Linked DNA regions of Homo sapiens: all the other regions are linked to region 1. Evidence: promoter capture Hi-C in 16 types of primary human blood cells and fetal thymus (Javierre and others, 2016). All regions are on one chromosome and are shown on one strand. Each heading gives the region's core, a stretch centred on a gene start or on the middle of the fragment in contact. The rest is flanking DNA. Distances are from core to core; before and after follow the strand shown. Region 1 holds the start of MID2 (midline 2). Region 2 holds the start of VSIG1 (V-set and immunoglobulin domain containing 1). Region 3 holds the start of TEX13B (testis expressed 13B).

Region 1 (3,463 bases), core at 683-3,182:
TCTCTTGATGGACATTAAATTTGCTTCTGCCTCTTGAATGATGCTGCTGTAAGCGTGGGTTTGCCAGTATCTTTTTGAGATCCTGTTTTCTATTTGCTTGGATATATATCTAGAAGTAAGATTGTTTAATCATATAGTAGTTCTATTTTTAATTTTTTGAGGAACCTCCATACTATTTTCCATAGCAGCTACACCAGTTTACATTCCCTTGCATAGTGGCTGTACCTTTTTACAATAGTGTGCAAGGGTTCCAATCTCTCCACAACCTTAACACTTATTATTTTCTGTTCTAATTTTATTTTTTGTAGAGACACGTTCTATTCATGTTACCCAGGCTGATCTCTAACTGCTGGTCTCAAGTGACTCTCTTGCCTCAGCATCCCCTCCTGAGTAGCTGGGATTACAAGTGTGAACCACACCTTGCCGTATTTTCCTGTGTGTTTGTTTTGTGTGTGTGTGTGTGTGTGTGTGTGTGTGTGTGTGACCATCCTAATGGATGTGAAGTGATATTTCATTGGGGTTTGATTTGCATTTCCCTAACAATTAGTGATGTGGATCATCTTTGCATATGCCTGTTGGCCACTTGTATATCTTCGTTGGAGAAATGTCTATTCAAGTCTTTTGTCCACTTTTAAGAGTTTTTTTTTTAATTGAGCTATAGAAGTTCTTTATACATTCTGGATATTAGCACATTATCCGATATATGGTTTGCAAATATTTTCTATCATTTTGTAGGTTGCTTTTTCACTCTGTTGATTGTGTCCTTTCCTGTGCAGATGTTTGAAAGTTTTATGGTCCCATTTACCTATTTTTGCTTTTGTTGCCTGTGCTTTAAGTGTGACTCACTAACTTTTACTTCTCTTAGGGGCCAGACTTTCATCAGGAGAGCCTGGTTGTGACTTTTGTCTTGGTTTCCACCTCAGTGCTCTCTAGCACATTGTTTAACAGGAGTGTTGACTGATTACTATTGGTTCCCTGAAGGGATATACCAAGAGATACCTCAATTTTTCTGGACTTGTTCCTATGCACAATGATGGGAGGCGTGTGTGTGTGTGTGCTGGGGTGAGTCTTCCCATTTTCTCATTTCTTTCCCCTTCTTCTCCCTTTTTGCCCCAAGTTAGAAACAGAGTCTCTTATGGGGCTTCCTGCTCTTTCCCTCTCCCATCCACCTTTTGAGTCGGGTGGTGGTCTCTGAGCCAATGACAGGTCAGCAAACAGGCTGATTCCAGACCAATGGGAGGATGCTGGATTCCAAATGGACCAATTAGCTTATTAGGGACCTGGAATAGCTGGATAGCTAGCATCTGCCTCATTGTCCATGTGGTAACGACCCTCTTGTTTTACTGGTCAACAATTTGAAGGTACAAGAAAAATCCTACTTTTTTTTTTCTTTTGATGGTTTTAATCCACCTCCACAACTTCTGCCCGAGGCCAATAAAACACAGCCATTCTTTTTTTGTAAAAAGAAAGAGAGGTTCGGTTTCCTTCAATTGTCTGCCCTTTTCTATCTCCTCCACTATTTTTGTTTTACTCTGTAGTTAACTTTGCATAGAGCAGCTTCATAGGGAGGATCTCTGCGGTGGACCCGGCTCTCTCTTCTTATTACCCGTTGCAAAGGCCTCTTTCTTGTTCTAACCTGGGGGTTTGTGGGGTTGGGGGACAGGGGGATTGGGGAGTGGGAGAAGAGTTTAGCCATAGCCTTCCTTCTGCATTTCACACACATTTAGCTATCTCTGTCGCTCTGTCACACACACACACACGCACATACACACCATACACACACACACGCACACCCGTCCGGGTCCCTCTCGGTGTGTCTTCCTTCAAGATGACAGGGCGCTGGAGAAAAGGCTGCTGGAATCAGCTGGTAGGTACAGTAGTAACCCGAGCCCCACCCACCGGCTGCCTTTGCTTGCTCAGGTTTCTCCGGTCACTCCTGCCAGGGGAGAAGACATGTAAACGTGCCTCCAGAGGAAGGGCTGGGGGAGCTGGGAGTGGCGGGGGCGGCGGAAGGTGAGCCTGGGAAGGTGGCCGAGCACCCCTTCTTCTTGGGCCCTTCCCAGTGCTCCCTTGGGGTGTCAGCCCCAGCCCCGTTTGCCCCCACTCCGCCTCCCTTTTGGAAGGGATTGCCTTTTTTTTCCTCTGCGGCGGCGGAAATGACAGTGTGGTGCTGCCGTGGTGTCATGGTGCTGCCCCTGGACTGAGGGGCGAAAACTCTTAAGTTTAGCTCGGGAGGCCCAGCTGCGGTAGCATCGCGGCCGCCGTGCTGTCCCCTGCGGGGCGCGCGGGCTGGCGGATCCCGGCTGCTGCGCGGCGTCGGCGACGGTAGCGGCAGCGGCGGCGAAGGCGGGCGGCGGCCTACAGTGGTAGCGGCGGCGGCGGCGACCGGGGCCCGGGAGCTCGCGCCGGAGCCCGAGCCAACCCGCTGCGGAGGCAGACGAGAGCCCAGCGCCCTCGAGCGAGCGGAGGAGATGGCTGGCACCTGGGAACGCTATGGGTAAAACGCGCCCCCTCGCCGCGGCCCTGGAGGTCGAGCGTCGTAGCCCTCGCAGGGCTAGTCTCCGGCTCCGGCCGCTTTTCAGGTGCCGCCGGGGCCCGGCGTTGGCCGAGGGCTCTCCGGCTCGGCGAGGCAGGGTGATGGGGCCCGCGAGGCTCGAAACGGCGACGGGGGCCCCAGCTCAGCTCCGGCTCTCAGTCATGCTGTTGGGGCCCGGGTTCCTGCCACTGCCCTCCTGGGACGGAGTTTGCACTCCGGGGTGCGGGGCGGGGGCGGCCGAGGCCTCTGCGCAGCCTGGCCGGGCCCGGCGCGGGCAGTCGAGCGAATCCCCCGGCGCCTGGGCGCGAGTCTGGGAAAGGGCACGGCCGCCTTCCCACGCTCCCGCAGCCGGCAGCCTCCTCGGCCCAGGCGTCGCCCCTTGGCCGGCCGTCTGCCGGGCGGTGCTGTCGCAGCAGCCGGCGTGGCTGCGGACGCCCTGCCGGCGGGGAGGCCCGGTGAAACTTAATCCCTTTTCTGCCAGGGAGCGATCCTCGAGTCTCCGTCTGGATGGTTCCTTATTTCTGGCCTAGCTGTGAAATCAGCTCTGTGGGGGAGAGGGAAAACTTACATATGTCCACAGGACAGACTGCGACGCAACCAGGGAGAGTGGGGATTTTCCATTCCTGCCTTGTAAGAATTAAGTAAATAACGGCGGAGTAGATTTACAGAAACATTACTGGTGATGATAAGGTTTAGGTTACTTAGCACTTCGTGTGTTGCACATTATTTTTCAGAGGTGTTTCTTCTTAGAGCAGGAAATTGAAATCCTGCAGTCGTTGTACTCTTTACTTTCTCTCTTCCACGGTCCCCTACCCGTTTTCAGGATCACTCACCTTCCTATGTCACAACGCTTACTTGCCTACCCAAATCCCCCAGCAGAGCCCCTTGGACCCCAGCCTTTCCCCATCAACGTGTGCACTCCCAGCC
Region 2 (3,463 bases), core at 673-3,172, 220 kb after region 1:
GTTGATTTGTGCACAAGTCATATCTTGGGAAATGAAAGGAACGTTCTTTCTCTGTCACCTGCTGTTCCTCCTCACCCTCCACTGCCTTATACGGCCCAGTACGCAGAATTCAAGCCAGTGCTAGATTATGTGCTACATGCCTGACAGTGAGACTCATATTATAACATTGCTTCTGCAGGAGTTCTTGCGTGCAGTCAACGAGTTTACCATTACATCTTGGGACACGCTCATTTTAAAGTTGGGAACTGCCTGTATAAGACATGGTCCCTACCCTGGAGGGATTCACAGTGACTAGATTTAAGGTAGACCAGTTAATAAATGCGAAACTACTGGAGAATAATCAATGGTCAGCTGTAGGATATTGGCTTTAAGTAAAATGGAAATTTATGCTAGGGTGGTATGTCGGTTCATTGAAATTCTCACATAGGACAGTATGACTGATCTATGCTAAGAATATACTTGGCTAGTAAGAGGAGGAAGAAGAAAACTCTAGTGATGGAAATCACCTGGAGCCAACGTTTGGCATCAGACATGAGCATGGACAGGATAGGCTGCAAGGAGGAATCAGGCATGATGGAAGCAAAATGGCTTTCTAAGAAGCAGTGGGAGATTGGAATGGCTAAAGTAAGATGGGGTCAAACATTTCCTGTAAATTAAAGACAGGAACATAAAACATATCACTTGAAATTTGTACACATTTCATGTGACTGAACACTTTGAGGCAATAAATCTTGACATACTTTTTCAGGGGCATGAGTTAATGTGGCTAAAGTTCAGATGAGGTGAGGATCAGATATTGGAAGAATGGGAATCCATATTAAGGACTTTGGATTTGATGAAAGAGTCCATTTATGGTGTTACTGGAAATATTTCACTAGGGCTGGAACATTGGCCTGCGGCTGGCACACAGGATGAAGGTGGAATAAGTCAGGGAGACCACTTAGGAAGCTGCTATGATAGGCCAAAGTGGGAAGCTGAGTACCTGGACCAAGATGGAAGCAGCAGATTGGAGAAAGAACACATCTGAAAGTCGCTGTGGAGATGGAAATGATAGGACTTAGAAATCACATGGGAAGAGCCAGAGAAAGTCCTTAGGTTTCTCCGGGTAACTTAAGCATAATAGGAACACTATTAGAAGTTCATGTTCCCATGAAAGTTCCTTACCTGTGGAGCCTCCCATGCCCTCCTGGTGAACCTCCATTTCTAAGGAAACCCTATAGCATTTACTGAGTATCTTAATTCTCCAAAAAATCAGACTTCTCCAAAGAAAGTCTTTAAGCATGTATTCACTAACTTGATTTTGCAAAATTACGTTAGCAAATACGTGCTATAAGGTTTCTAACCCGACAGACAAAAGCATGTAAATCATTTTACTGCTAGTTTTGGTGGAGGGTAGTGACAACTGCCAGTGTTTCAAAAAAGAGTAACATATCCAGAGTTTGTTCACACAGAAATGAATGCTTTTTAGCTTCATAACCCCTGTGCCCTTCCCGTGAGCCCCATCTCCCCAGGAAACGATATAGTACCAATTTACTAACTTAATTTGTAAAAGGAGGTTAGTGAATCAATTCTGTAAGACTCATGGAAATATTTGAAATTAATTAGCCTTGTCAGCTTTTATTTGCATAGGCTCTCTTCCAACCATATCCCCCAGCCCAAGTACAACGTTTTAGTAAGATTGATTTTAAACAATGAGACTTAGAGAATCTGTGTACAAGGAGCTTGAATAATTTAAATGCGTGGGTTTATTATTAACACAGTAGCAAATATATCAAGGAAACACGCCCCATGAAAAGTGTTTCAAAGAAACACAAATCTGTACTGAAAAAAGTCTATACGCAATAAGTAAGCCCAAAGAGGCATGTTTGCTTGGCGATGCCCAGCAGATAAGCCAGGCAAACCTCGGTGTGATCGAAGAAGCCAATTTGAGACTCAGCCTAGTCCAGGCAAGCTACTGGCACCTGCTGCTCTCAACTAACCTCCACACAATGGTGTTCGCATTTTGGAAGGTCTTTCTGATCCTAAGCTGCCTTGCAGGTAAGGAAAGGATCTCCAAACCACCAAATATAATTGGAAACAGAGTTTCCTTTTAAATAAAAATTCCACATTTTTACATAGAATTTTCATCTCCTGTACTTCAAATGAATTGTGATTAGTATGATGAGTTAATTTTCAGAACTCTTGCTTAGCAAACATATGCCATGCTGATATATTAGGGGTGTAAGCCCATAATATTATTGTTTTATGGAGCTTCTGAATGAAAATTTTCTCAGAAAAAAATATAGTTTATTACTTTACTTACTTTGAAAAGTGAAAAAAATGAATTTACTCAGAAACCAAACTTTGTGCTAGGGATAATTTTGTCTCTGTTTTACTTACTTTAGTGTTTCCTTTAAGCTCAGTGATTGACTTGCTCTAGCAGGCAGAGCCTGGGTTGGAGGGCCTGCCCTGGCTTACATATGGGAAGAACAGAAATTTACTGAGTACTTTACTGTCTAATATTTCTTAAGGAGTTGTGGTTTTCCAATCCTAAGACTGTATTTTGCAAAATATGTGAGTGATTTATGGTGCACAACATGGGTGATTTTAGGTATCTGAACAGAAGAAAATCAATTTTGGAATCAAAATACTGATGTTAGTTAGATCCAGGAGAGATCATTAATTCCAAAAATCCCTTGGGTAGTTTTCAAATATCAGATACATTTTGCATCTGTTCTTATAAGTTAGGTCCATAGTAAATACAATAATATTGTTTATCCAAAAACAGGATTTTCAAGCCATTAGTAATATTAGGCAGTGGTTAGAATGAGGTTTACTAGGCGTATTAATGACATAAGAAAATACCCACGATAAAATATTAAGTGAAAAAGCAGGATGCACACATATGCCTAGAATAAATTACTAGAAGGTTATATACCGAAGTGCTCATGGTGGTTGCCTCTGGGTGATGGGATTATAGATGATTTTAATTTTATTTCCCAGCTTTTCATACTTCCTGGGTTTTCTACGAAGAACATTATGCTATTTTTATAATTAGAAAAAAGTGTTACTTTTCAAAGTGATCTCATGTTTAGAAATAGTTCTTTAAATGTTCATTACTAAATGTTTAAGCATAGATGTTTTATGGAGTTAAACATCACCAGAAGGCAATACTCCATTTGTCCAGTGACCTAACTAGGCCCTAGAGCTGGAAACACATGTTCCTATTTTCCCTTCTCCCCAGGCATATTCATTTAAATGTAACTTTAGATATGGAAGTTTTGTCTCTTCTTAAAGGGTTTCCAGTCATTAGCCAGTTGGGTCGACCCCTGGGCCTTCTGCATCAGCCCTCTAAGATCATACCTGTTTCCCTATGTGAAGCCTTGCCCTGGCCCATACTAGGCACAGGGTTTGGAACGGTTGTTAAGAACAGTTTTTTTTTTTTTTAACTGTACCTAACATACAAGTAATTTTTACTGATTAT
Region 3 (3,463 bases), core at 547-3,046, 160 kb after region 1:
GATACTTAAGATAGGGAGCTAGAGACACACACACAAATAAAAACTGCAGTAGTTCTGGAGTGTTGACTACTAATACTCTGAAATACAAATGGAGTCATTAAAACATGTCTCTCCCTGCCTGTCATCTACATCCTCCCACCCACAACCCCGCCTCCCCGCCCCCCTACTGTCCAATCTTCCCACTCATCCCCTTTCCCCCACTCCACCCAATCCCCCTCCCACCTCTCCCCTCTCCCCCTGAAGATTGATTTCCCATTGAGATATATTTCTGTTCTATTTTACATTTCTGAATTTACTGAGGCTTTTGCAGCCAGATTCGCCTCCCACAGAGGAAGCAATTTTCCCTCCATGAAAAATTCACAGCTTTACACCACGGGCAGTCCCAGTTCCCTGGCCTGCGATATACTGGAGGTCTTCTCTGCTGATGGAGTTCGGAGTCTCTCCTGTCTCTTGGGGGCTCTTGAGGGTCTATTCCCTGGGCCTCCACATCTGACCACAGGCTAGCATCAGAGGCCCCCCAGTTGAAAGGCATCTGAGTTGGAACCCGTTCTGTGACCTTTGCTGGTGAAGGGGGTATATTGGGTATGGCTGAGAAGGCGGACAAAGGGCATGGGTATGAGTATGTGAATGAGGTAGGGAGCTGGACAGGAAGAGGCTCCAGTGAGACTGTGGACCCAAGCCCAGAGAAGACAGACATGGCTGTTTGTACTGACCTGAGATCTTTCTCCCTCTGCCCCGCAAAGGTGTAATTTGCCTGCTACAATAGCTCCGAGGGGCTGCCTGAAGCCTCCTCCCAGCCCCTGCAAGACCTCTGCGGGGGCAGGCCCTGCCTCTGCATACCTCTCCTCTCCTTTTCCTCCAGCAGCACCAGCAGCAGCCACCGCCTCCTTTTCCTGCTCACCTGCTCCTTCTGTCCAATCCCCTCCGGCAGTGGCCAGGCCTGGAAACACTGTAGCCTGGCCCTGTCCCTGGGGAGGTGCCAGCTCCTGGAGAGAAGTAGGCAGAGCTGAAACACATTCTGGGGACAGGGCAGGGGGTCCGGACAGGTTGGGGCAGGGCAGAGGCATTGGACAGGGACCATTCGGGGGATCTTACGGCATGGAAGAGCTTCCATCTCAGCATGTCCCGCTCTCTCTGCACCTCCGCAAGGCTGGTCTCGGTTAGCTGCAACTGGAAGGTCGCCTCATTGCATTCCATCTCCTGCTGTTCCTTGAGTTCCGTCAGGTTTGAGGCCAAGACCAGCGCAGCTGATCTGTGCAGTTTGGCAAAGCCTTGCAGCCACTGCACCCTGCGGTTTTGTAACTGCCCCTGCCTGTGGGCAAAGCGCACACCCAAGGCCAGGCTGCCCCAGGTGCAGGCCTCTTTGACCTCGCTGGGCACCTCGCTGTCCTCCAGGATGGCCCTGAGCTTGTCTTCCACCTCCTCCCAGGATAAGGATATATTCTCGAAGTAGAACTCGGGGCCTTTCGTGTGCCTGGCCATTTTCTCGATGATGAAGGCCACCACGTTTCCGTGCCGGAACCCACTACTGGGGTCCTCAGGTCTCAAGGCCATGATCGCCTAGGGGCTTAACGGTTTCACTAGCCCTGTGTGGATGGAGCAGCCAATAGGTTTCTTTCCTCCTCCTTAGCCCCTCCCCTCATCTGTCTTCTCCGCCCTCCCACCTCTGACAAGACCCTCCTAATGACCCTCTGACCGGCTTGTCCTACCCTAGGACATCTCCCACCAGGCCTCACCTCTTCAGCCAGGGCCAGAGGAAGTACAGGCCAACCCCGCTGCTTAACACGCCTGAAGAGAGGGTGGCCTCTTTCCCTCCTAGGGCTCTGCGGGAAAAGAAGCCTCAGGGCCAACCCATGAGGATTTTACTCTGGGACTGTTCCAATTTCCAGAGACTGTAGGGGTGAAAGGGAGTGAGTGAGGAAGGCCTCTGCCATTCCACTGGGACAAAAGGGAACCTGCCACATGGTCGGGAGACCTTGAAGGCTGAAAGAAACAGGAGTGGTCCGGAAGGACTTAGGACCAAAAAAAGTATTTGTGAACAAGTTGAAGACTTATCCCTCCCCATCATAATGGTTTGTGCCATGCCAGGGGAGTTTCGCCCCCAACTGGAATATTCTAGAGCAGGAAACAGCCCCAACCCCTCAGTTGCCCTTGGAGGAAGAGGGTGGAGCCAGGAGCGGAGCTTATCCCCTGTTTGCTCAGGACTAAACATCCCAGACACCCTAACAAATCCTGGCCTGCCTTTCCTCCCTTAGCTCCTCTTTCCCCACACTCCTCCCATCACCCCTTCTCCCACTCCTCCCCTACTGAAACGCCTTGAATCTTGAAGCAACTGTGGGAGAAAGAGAGTTAGGAGTAGCATAAATACACCTTTTTACCAAAACATGAAATATCAGAGATCTTCCATCAGAGGGATATGAATATGTCTCTTAAAACCTTCGGCCGGGCGCGGTGGCTCATGCCTGTAATCCCAGTACTTTGGGAGACCGAGATGGGCGGATCACGAGGTCAGAAGATCGAGACCATCCTGGCTAACAGGGTGAAACCCCGTCTCTACTAAAATTACAAAAAATTAGCCAGATGTGGTGGCACGCGCATGTAGTCCCAGCTACTCGGGAGGCTGAGGCAGGAGAATCGCTTGAACCCACGAGGCGGAGGTTGCAGTGAGCCGAGATCGCACCACTGCACTGTAGCCTGGGTGACAGAGTGAGACTCTGTCTCAAACAAACAAACACAAAAACAAGAAAACCTTGAATGACTTTCTGAGACCCACAAGATAAATCAGACAAATCTCAGGTTGAGTCCAGCGTTGCTACGTATTACATGACATTGTACTGTAACTGAATCTGTTTCTACCTATGGATCTATGATGATGGCCAATGACAAAAGGGCATGTAAAGTTGTAGGAGTAATGTTTTCTATGATCCCGTATTTGTGTGTATGTGTGTGTTTGCATATGTTTGTATGTTTCTATAATCTTGGAGAACAGAATGAGAGAGGATATATAGCAGACTCAACATTAATTATCTCTGGGAAGTGGGGTTGGACTGGAGGTTAGAAAAAAAGTTTTTAACTTTAAAATACATTTTTCTCTAATTTCGCTTGTTACAAAGAGCATATAACTAACTATATGTATGCATACATCACAAATCTGGAAAGTTATATACTAACACTTTAACAGTGGTTATCTTTGGGTAATAGGAATACAGTACTTTAAAAAATATTCTTGACATTTTTCTCTATTGTAAAATTGTTTATAATAAACGTGTTATGTTTTTCAAAATTGAAAAAAAATGTTTCTCCCAGTAACAGCTGATCATTGTAAATAATTTTTAAGTGCTTGGAAAGTACTTCTATAATCCTACCCTTCCTTCAACCTGGGTGATAATCCCTCTTAATAGTTATATAGTCTTTTAGATAGGCCATAGCAAGTAATTTTTAGTTTTTCAAACGAAGCATCTTC

The links. Contacts are between HindIII fragments. The CHiCAGO score rates a contact against its expected background, and 5 or more counts as called.
Region 2: the fragment with the promoter of VSIG1 here is called in contact with the fragment with the promoter of MID2 in region 1 in 6 of 17 cell types (total CD8 T cells, activated CD4 T cells, total CD4 T cells and 3 more); the score reaches 7.1 in total CD8 T cells.
Region 3: the fragment with the promoter of TEX13B here is called in contact with the fragment with the promoter of MID2 in region 1 in 4 of 17 cell types (endothelial precursors, total CD4 T cells, naive CD8 T cells and 1 more); the score reaches 7.9 in endothelial precursors.

Annotation. Positions count from the first base shown.
Region 1 is chrX:107,823,934-107,827,396 of GRCh38, forward strand. It overlaps MID2 (midline 2), which reads left to right and starts at 1,933. Exons shown (of 10, transcript NM_012216.4): 1 at 1,933-2,497. The coding sequence starts at 2,494. RefSeq lists silencers at 2,351-2,540, 2,701-2,750. The HindIII fragment of the contact is 8,930 bases long and covers 1-3,463 here.
Region 2 is chrX:108,043,143-108,046,605 of GRCh38, forward strand. VSIG1 (V-set and immunoglobulin domain containing 1) reads left to right here and starts at 1,923. Exons shown (of 7, transcript NM_182607.5): 1 at 1,923-2,037. The coding sequence starts at 1,989. The HindIII fragment of the contact is 8,448 bases long and covers 1-3,463 here.
Region 3 is chrX:107,980,574-107,984,036 of GRCh38, forward strand. It overlaps TEX13B (testis expressed 13B), which reads right to left and starts at 1,797. Exons shown (of 3, transcript NM_031273.2): 1 at 1,737-1,797; 2 at 1,096-1,586; 3 at 291-986. The coding sequence starts at 1,554. The coding sequence ends at 507. It also overlaps the pseudogene LOC112267910 and the pseudogene NLRP3P1. The HindIII fragment of the contact is 6,409 bases long and covers 1-3,463 here.